2 separate regions of the Homo sapiens genome follow, and region 2 is linked to region 1. Evidence: promoter capture Hi-C in 16 types of primary human blood cells and fetal thymus (Javierre and others, 2016). All regions are on one chromosome and are shown on one strand. Each heading gives the region's core, a stretch centred on a gene start or on the middle of the fragment in contact. The rest is flanking DNA. Distances are from core to core; before and after follow the strand shown.

Region 1 (4,189 bases), core at 507-3,006:
GGGTATATACCCAAAGGATTATAAATCATGCTGCTATAAAGACACACACACACGTATGCTTACTGCGGCACTATTCGCAATAGCAAAGACTTGGAACCAACCCAAATGTCCATCAATGATAGACTGGATTAAGAAAATGTGGCACATATACACCATGGAATACTATGCAGCCATAAAAAAGGATGAGTTCATGTCCTTTGTAGGGACATGGATGATGCTGGAAACCATCATTCTGAGCAAACTATCGCAAAGACCGAAAACAAAACACTGCAAGTTCTCACTCATAGGTGGCAACTGAACAATGAGAACACTTGGACACAGGGTGGGGAACATCACACTCAGGGGCCTGTCGTTGGGTGGTGGGGAGTGGGGGGGAAGGGATACCATTAGGAGATATACCTAATGTAAATGACGAGTTAGTGAGTGCAGCAAACCAACATGGCACATGTATACATATGTAACAAACCTGTACGTTGTGCACATGTACCCTAGAACTTAAACTATAATAAAAAATAAAATTAAATTAAAAACAGAAAAAAAATAAAAGTATCAAGGTTGTAAAAAAAAAAAAAATTGGACGGGCGCAGTGGCTCAGGCCTGTAATCCCAGCACTTTTGGGAGGCCAAGGCGGGCAGATCACGAGGTCAGGAGATTGAGACCATCCTGGCTAACATGGCGAAACCCCGTCTCTACTAAAAATACAAAAAATTAGCCGGGCGTGGTTGCGGGTGCCTGTAGTCCCCAGCTACTCGGGAGGCTGAAGCAGGAGAATGGCATGAACCCGGGAGGCGGAGCTTGCAGTGAGCCGAGATCTCGCCACTACACTCCAGCCTGGGTGACAGAGCGAGACTCCGTCTCAAAAAAAAAAAAAAAAAAAAAAAATTGAGGACTTGCCACAGATTAGAGAACACCTAGGAGATTTCATAACAAAACACCTAGGAGATTTCACAACAGGATCCTGGATATTGGATCCTGGACCAGATCCAATGAAGGACATTAGTGGGAAAACTGGCAAAATTTGGGTAAGGCCTATAGGTTAAACGATAATAATGTTAATTTCCTGGTTTTGATCATTGAACTATGATTATGTAAGATGATAACAGACGAAACTGGGTGAAAGGTATATAGGAACTCTGCTGTAGTTTTGTACATCTAAAATCAATTCGGGCCGGGCACGTTGGCTCACGCCTGTAATCCCAGCACTTTGGGAGGCCGAGGTGGACGGATCGCTTGAGGTCAGGAGTTAAAGACCAGCCTGGCCAACATGGTGAAATCCCCTCCCTACTAAAAATACAACAATTAGCTGGGTGTGGTGGCGGGCATCTGTAATCCCAGCTACTCGGGAGGCTGAGGCAGGAGAATCGCTTGAACCCGGGAGGCAGAGGCTGCAAGCCGTGGGTATCGCGCCATTGCACTCCAGCCTCCGCGACAGAGCGAGAATCTGTCTCAGAATAAATAAATAAATAAATAAATAAATAATTAGTTCGAATCAAAAGTTAAAAACACTTCAAGTATATGTAAAAAATCGAAGAAAACGTTAAAAACACTTCAAGTATATACAATTCAAATAAGATCATCCTTCCAAATATACTCTGTAAGTGAGGCGAAGGTCGCTGCACGCTTGAGTGCACGTCTTTCCGCATAGGTAGGACGCTCAAGTCTTACCGGGAGGCTCTCCTAGAGAGCAGCGCGAAGCCATGGCTTTTGGGCCCGGGGACGGACCGTAGCGCGTAGCCGGAAGCGGAGGCGTGGAGGCGGGTCTGAGGTTTGGTGACTGCGGGGCAGGCCGGGGGCAGCTGTCTGTCTGGCTCTTTTTGACAGCCCCCAGTGCGAAAGGCTGCCAGCATGTCATCAGTGAGCCCCATCCAGATCCCCAGTCGCCTCCCGCTGCTGCTCACCCACGAGGGCGTCCTGCTGCCCGGCTCCACCATGCGCACCAGCGTGGACTCGGCCCGCAACCTGCAGCTGGTGCGGAGCCGCCTTCTGAAGGGCACGTCGCTGCAAAGCACCATCCTGGGCGTCATCCCCAACACGCCTGACCCCGCCAGCGACGCGCAGGACCTGCCGCCGCTGCACAGGTAGGCCTGGCTGCCCCCGCGGCGGCGGCGGGCGGCGCGGCCTCCTCCGGGGACCTGGGCCCAGGCCACGGCCTGCCTTGAGCGCGAGGCTCAGTTCGGGGCGGCCTTCGCGGCTCGGTTCCGCCTCTCTGGTGCTATCACTTGCAAAATGGGGATGTCAGATACCTGCCCCATGACCATGAATGAGATCGTTCATGAAGTAGTGCCTGACACCTGGTGAAACTACGCAGTTCCCTACCGTTCTGGATAATTTAATTTGAATCCTCTTCCCCCTCTCCGCAATTCCTCGCCCTCGGTCTTCAGCCTCCTAGGCCAGTGCTTTTAACTTTCCAGGCCCTTTCTTTCTCCCCGGTGATCTCTGCCTTCACTTGCCTTCGCTTTTCACCTTTCTCCCCACTGCCCTTTACTCCTATCCGCCTCCCCTTTTCTGTCACCCATCATTTTTGTCCGCTGAGGCATTCTCTGCTCCGTGAGTTTTAACTTTTCCTGTTTCATTCCTAAACTGCACTATTTGTGGGTGCCTTTCTTCTATACTCCCTGCCACCCTTCTCCTTCTCCCCCTAATCCTTCTGTTTCCCTTTGTAAAGGGCCTTTACTGCTCACATTTTCGCTGGTCCCCCTTTCTGGAACTTTCCTAGCTTCTCACCTCTGCTCCTTCACTCATAACATTTCTTAGGCCCCAGGCTTACTACTATATTGCCCAGTACCCTCGCCCTATTGGTGTGACTTTGGGTGAGAGCTTTAACCTCTATTTCTTTTATTCTGCAATTTGGAAACTGACAGCATCCATCTCTTAGGCAAGTTATGAAGAATAAATTGAATAATGTGTATATTCCACTTTGCACCATGCATGATGGATGACTTTGCTGTCCAGTACTGTGTAGTGCATGTGGCTCGTCAAATTGAGATGATAGAATTGCCAGTTGTCCTGGTTTGCTGCGATTGTCTGTTTTAGCATTGAAAGTCCTATGTTTTAGCCCCTCCGTCCCAGGGAAACCAGGAGGTTGGTCACCCTAAATGTGCTGTAAGTGTACAATACACGCCAGATTTTGAAAAAACTTTTTGATTAATACATTTTATATGGATTAAATGTTGGAAAGGTAATATTTTGAGTACTTGGGGTTAATAAAATGTTAAGATTTCTGCTGTTTTTACTTTATAATGTGGCCACTAAAATTTTATATGTGGTCCACATTATATTTTTATTGGACAATGCTGGTATATCGTATGCTCTCAACAAGTATCTTCAAACTCACCTGCCAAGCACCCGCCTCCTATTCCTAACTCTACTGGAGGTGTTGTGTTTTCAGTTTAGAGCTTCTCCTTTCCTGGCAGTTATCCCTTATTTTTAAATTAGGGGTTCCTGACTCTGAATGGATTTCCGGAGGGTTGGACATGTCTTATTTTTCCTCAAAATCTTGTGACTATGTACATTTTTTTAGGAGAATCCTTTGCTTTCTTCAGATTCTCAAAGGAGACTGGTACCTCCCCCCACCCCCGTTAAAAGAAAGCAAAACAAAGCAACAAAGACCAACAAACCTTCCACAGCAGCCCAGTATTCATTTATATTGTAAAAGCCTTGATTTTCTCAAGCATGGAAAATATTTTGGCTCCCATCTGACCTGCTTTGGTTATTGCCTGAGTGGAATTGGTCACATTCCAAGTTTCAGTACTCTTTGATAAATTGTATTGGATTCTAGTTTCCCAACATACGACTCTGCTCCTTCTGCTTACTTTTCCCAAATTATTTTGCCTTCTGTGCCCAGGCACACTTAGTTCCCTGTCTAGGCAAGAGTGGTCATTATTAGACTTCATTTTCTTTCTACTGTGCATATGTATTGATTAGCCATGGGCACATTGTGAACTTGAAAAGTCGATTTAGTCACATTTTAAGTTTCACTATTTGTTGGTATTATTCTGGCAAGATTTTGGAAGGTTTTTATTATTTATTCATTTGTGTATTTTTTGAGACAGAGTCTCATTCTGTCTCCTCCGCTGAAGTGCAGTGGCGTGATCGTAGCCCACCGCAACCTTGATTGAACTCCTGGGCTCAAGTGATCGTCCTGCCTCAGCTTCTGGAGTGGCTGGGACTATAGGCGTGCACCACTACA
Region 2 (4,186 bases), core at 1,396-3,895, 1.1 Mb before region 1:
TTGTAGGTTAAGTAAGAGAGATGAAGCTTTAGAATGCTGGTTTTGAGGTGCTGTAAGTCATCTAGGTTGAGCTATCATGGTGACAGTTGGAAATGGGGAAGGACCTTTAGAGATGAGAGCTGGGGATATCTGAAGCCATGATTTTAGATGAAATTGGCAGGGAAAGTGTTGAAAGAAGAGGGCCAGGGGCAGACACTGGGGAAAGCCTGCATTGAGAAAATGGTAGAAGGAGCCAGCCTGCTTAAGTAAAAAAGTGGTTAAAGAGGTTCTACCTCTTTGAGATACCACAGTGCCACAGGAGATACAGTATATATATAGTCAAATATATACTTGTACTTAAAACTTTCATTTTTGGCCACTGCATAATTATTGTTATAAGCACGCAATGTTTATGCTGTAATCAGATCTACTGAGGAATTAATGAAATTCATTTCCTTTGCTTCACAGGTCAAGAACTGTGGAATCTTTCAGATGATATTCTGATACTTCTGGACCAAGTATGTATGGTTGTCCTTGATCTTACTCTTAAGTTGCAATCTTAAGGTTAATTGAATATGTAACTTCATGTTACTGTTTTTGATATGTAAAGGAGTGATTTTTTAAAAGTGACAAGCCTATGAGCATTTATAGAACAACTAATATGTTCTTTTTCATATGTTAAAAGAACAAACACGGTAATTCTAGCAAAAAATGATTATGATGGCATGTCAATCCAGAGTGTAGGTGCAAAAAAAGAAAAACACCTTTCTTTGGGGCCACAAAGCAGCCCTTTTTTGAGGGCATTGATTGGAACCCATATATAAATAGAAACTAGCTTTTTCACATATATCTAAACTGCTAATTTACAGTGATAGCCTCTTTTTTCTTTGCATAAAAATCTTTTACATATTTGGGAGTTTTGTTTTCAATTATTATTTAGAGTATTATACTAAAGAACAGAAATCAGTTTAATGCAAAGAATACTTGATAGATGAAAAAGATGTTTATGGCTTTTTTCTTTTTTTGAGACAGGGTCTCACTCCTTTTGCCCAGGCTGGAGTGAAGTGGTACAATCGCAGCTCACTGTACCCTCAACTTTCTGGGCTCAGGTGATTCTCCGACCTCAGCCTCCTGAGTAGCTGAGATTACAGGCTTGCATCATGGTGCCTGGCTAATTTTTGTGTATTCTGTAGAGACGGGGTTTCATCATGTTGCCCAGGATGGTCTCAAACTCCTGAGCTCCAGCAATCTGTCCACCTTGGCCTCCCAAAGTGCTGGGATTACAGGCATGAGCCACCATGCCTGGCTGTTTATTGCTTCAGTTGTTACCTTCCACCTAAACCTCAAGAAAATAATTTAACCTCTTTTCACTCTAATTCTTTTCAAAGAGATAGCTGATAATCCTAGCCAAAGAATGTCCATGGCTTTATCAGTACATACTGAACACACGTTCATTTTTTAAAATCATTATTATTTTTCAGGTCATTATGAAATTGTTTCTAAATGCCTTTTGATTTCCGGTTGATCACTTTATTACTACCGTACTGCATCAAACTTTTAAAGTAGACATCTCTTGTGATTTGTATGAATTGATAGGAGACATTAGTAACTTCCAGGGATAAAAGAAATTATCATCAATAAAATGATGCTTTGAACAGAACTTGAAAAATGATGAAATTCTAGTCATATGAAAAAAGTTTAAAATAAATATAGTGTTTTTAAAGAGCAATGTATGTATTACTAGAATAAATTAACCAAAATTAATGCTTCCTTTAAATGAACAAACCTTTTCCTGCCAATGTAAAATGCCAATTATTGCCAAGATGAAAACACAGACACCGATGAGAGCTATAGCAGTAAGCAGAACAATATTACTTGGTGTAAGATACAGTTTGGCACTCCAACTGTAGATAAAAACAGAACAAATTAAAATTACAAATTTTATTTAAAAATAACAAAGTTATATTGAGACCCCAAAGCAAAATAGCTTATTAATTAAACAGTCAATGTATTCATTAAACCATTCATTCATCAGTCCATTCATTATAAATAAAACAAAAACAATTAAAAATCAGATAGTGCTGAGAATATTGATGATTCTGCAGTTTATATTTTACCTAGACAACTGAAATAGAATTTTTGATGAGATATTTCAATATTTTTCATTTTCCAAGTTTGATCCTATGAGAATTATTTTTAGGTAAACATATCCAAGGGTACTTTGGATAATCATAGACATCTTTTTTACATCTTGATTTACCTGCTTAATTTGAAAACCTGAACTCTAAAGCAAGGTAGTCACATGATCCTAGAAGCCTTCTGTATCATCTTATTTTTGACCTGTGTCACATATATAATGTGACCAAGTAAAACATAAATGTTGATGGCTTGTGCAAAACTTCTATAATTTTTATATCATGTTGGAGTGTTTACATTACTACAATGACTTTTAGGTTCAGATCACTTACAAAATCATCTTTAGTCCCTCACTGTTAATGGCAATATACAGACTAGAGGTCTTTAGTAAACAGAACTAGTTCTTTCCTTCTAAAACAGTCCATGTAATATAGCATTTGCACACCCTGAAAGCCTAAAACTAAGGACTGTATCACCAAGTGTGAAGGTTGTTATATACACATAACTTTTTGTTCTTCCTAGAAATAGGTAATGGCTATATTTTTATTTTAAAAGTTTAATAAAGGTAAGACTGTTCTGGTAAATAGCAAGTAGCTATTGATTTATTCTGGGATAATTAAAATTTATTGATCCATAAGTTAGCTTCTAGTCAATAACCTCAAAATACACCTCAAAAACTAAAATCAATTTGGTTTTTATTATGTACATAAATTTGAAAAGAACATTTCTTTGGAAAGAGTAAGAGAAACATGAAAAATGTTGAGATTACGGAAAAAAGCTATGGTATAATTTTCTGGAAATTCAGAAGAGTAAGTAAACCTTAAGAAAACAAATACTGTTAATTAGTTGAAAGCTACTCTTAGTGTTATACTCATACTTAAGAAAACAGTTCTTTTATGAGATGTTTTTGGTAGTTCTACTTTTAAAATAGATTTTTAACAAATCAGGAATGTAAGTGTTTTGGTAAAAAAAAAAAAAAAAAAAGACAAAAGTCAATCCTCAGTTTTCTCCTCAGAGGCAGTCACTCTTACCAGTTTCCTGCATATCCTTTCAGAGATATTTTATACATGTATGAACATGTATGTATAGATGGCTTCTTTTTAAATCACAATGGCTGCTTATTATACATACTCTTCTACATTTTGCTGTTGCTTCTTTTGTTTGTTGTTGTTGTTATTGTTTTTTGCTTACCACTCCATCTTAAGAGACTGTTCTATGTCCGTGGCAGTGAAAAAAAATCATGCTACTGAGCTGTATAGAAGTACCGTACTTTATATAGTTTCCTACTCATGGTCCAGATTTTCTAGTTTTACTGTAAATTTCATCTATAGAAAACTAACACAAACATACAATACAGGCTCATTAAAAAAAATCTGAACCAGGACTATAACTGTTTCAATGATGTCATCTTATTCCAAGCATAAGGCTGTGATAAAGTTTATTTTCTTAAGCAGTTTGGTTCTGAAGCCCATTAATTTACCATAAAATGCATCTGCTGGTATGCTGGTAAACTGGCTCTGAGGTAGAGAGGGGTTCGGGAAGCCTTGTTTATGGTACTTGCCAATTTTCATGGAGTAGATTCTCCTACCATAACTGATTTCAGTGTGACTTCACTGAATAGAGATGCACAGAGTCAGGTCATGAAGTGGCATAAGCTGGTTTTGGCAATCAATACATTCGATCGAGATGTTTAATAAAGAATGATGAAGCTGGTATTTTCAGAGGGAATGTAACAAGCAGGGGACCCCACTGGTTACATATTCATAGATAAATTCACCATTTCTCTTTGGTTATTTTCTCATATTGATATTTGTCTAGCATATTTTTCCCTATGAAATTTAAATGTTAGTGAATACTTTTATCGCCTAATTTAAAAGGAATAGAATCAATCTAGGAATTTAAATAAAAATGAATAAAATTTAAGGATTTAAAGTTAAATGCTGTATTATGAAATGAATGTATTCTGTTAATAAGGATAAAAATACCTACCATTCGCTTACCACATGCTTGGCACTGTGTTAAGTATATTTCACCCTCAGATGCAGAAAGTGAGTCTTGGAGAGGACAAAGG

The links. The method cuts DNA at HindIII sites, captures the fragments that hold promoters and counts their contacts. A CHiCAGO score of 5 or more calls a contact.
Region 2: a fragment that was not itself captured here is called in contact with the fragment with the promoter of LONP2 in region 1 in 1 of 17 cell types (total B cells); the score reaches 5.1 in total B cells.

What each region holds. Positions count from the first base shown.
Region 1 is chr16:48,242,544-48,246,732 of GRCh38, forward strand. LONP2 (lon peptidase 2, peroxisomal) reads left to right here and starts at 1,757. Exons shown (of 15, transcript NM_031490.5): 1 at 1,757-2,078. The coding sequence starts at 1,846. All of the region lies in intron 1 of ABCC11 (ATP binding cassette subfamily C member 11), which reads right to left. RefSeq lists an enhancer at 1,693-1,782. The HindIII fragment of the contact is 24,694 bases long and covers 1-4,189 here.
Region 2 is chr16:47,157,108-47,161,293 of GRCh38, forward strand. ITFG1 (integrin alpha FG-GAP repeat containing 1) reads right to left here. Exons shown (of 18, transcript NM_030790.5): 17 at 1,766-1,883. ITFG1-AS1 (ITFG1 antisense RNA 1) reads left to right here. Exons shown (of 4, transcript NR_110904.1): 2 at 448-497. Among named protein-coding and RNA genes, the nearest start is that of ITFG1-AS1, 15 kb to the left of the region's middle. The HindIII fragment of the contact is 5,243 bases long and covers 25-4,186 here.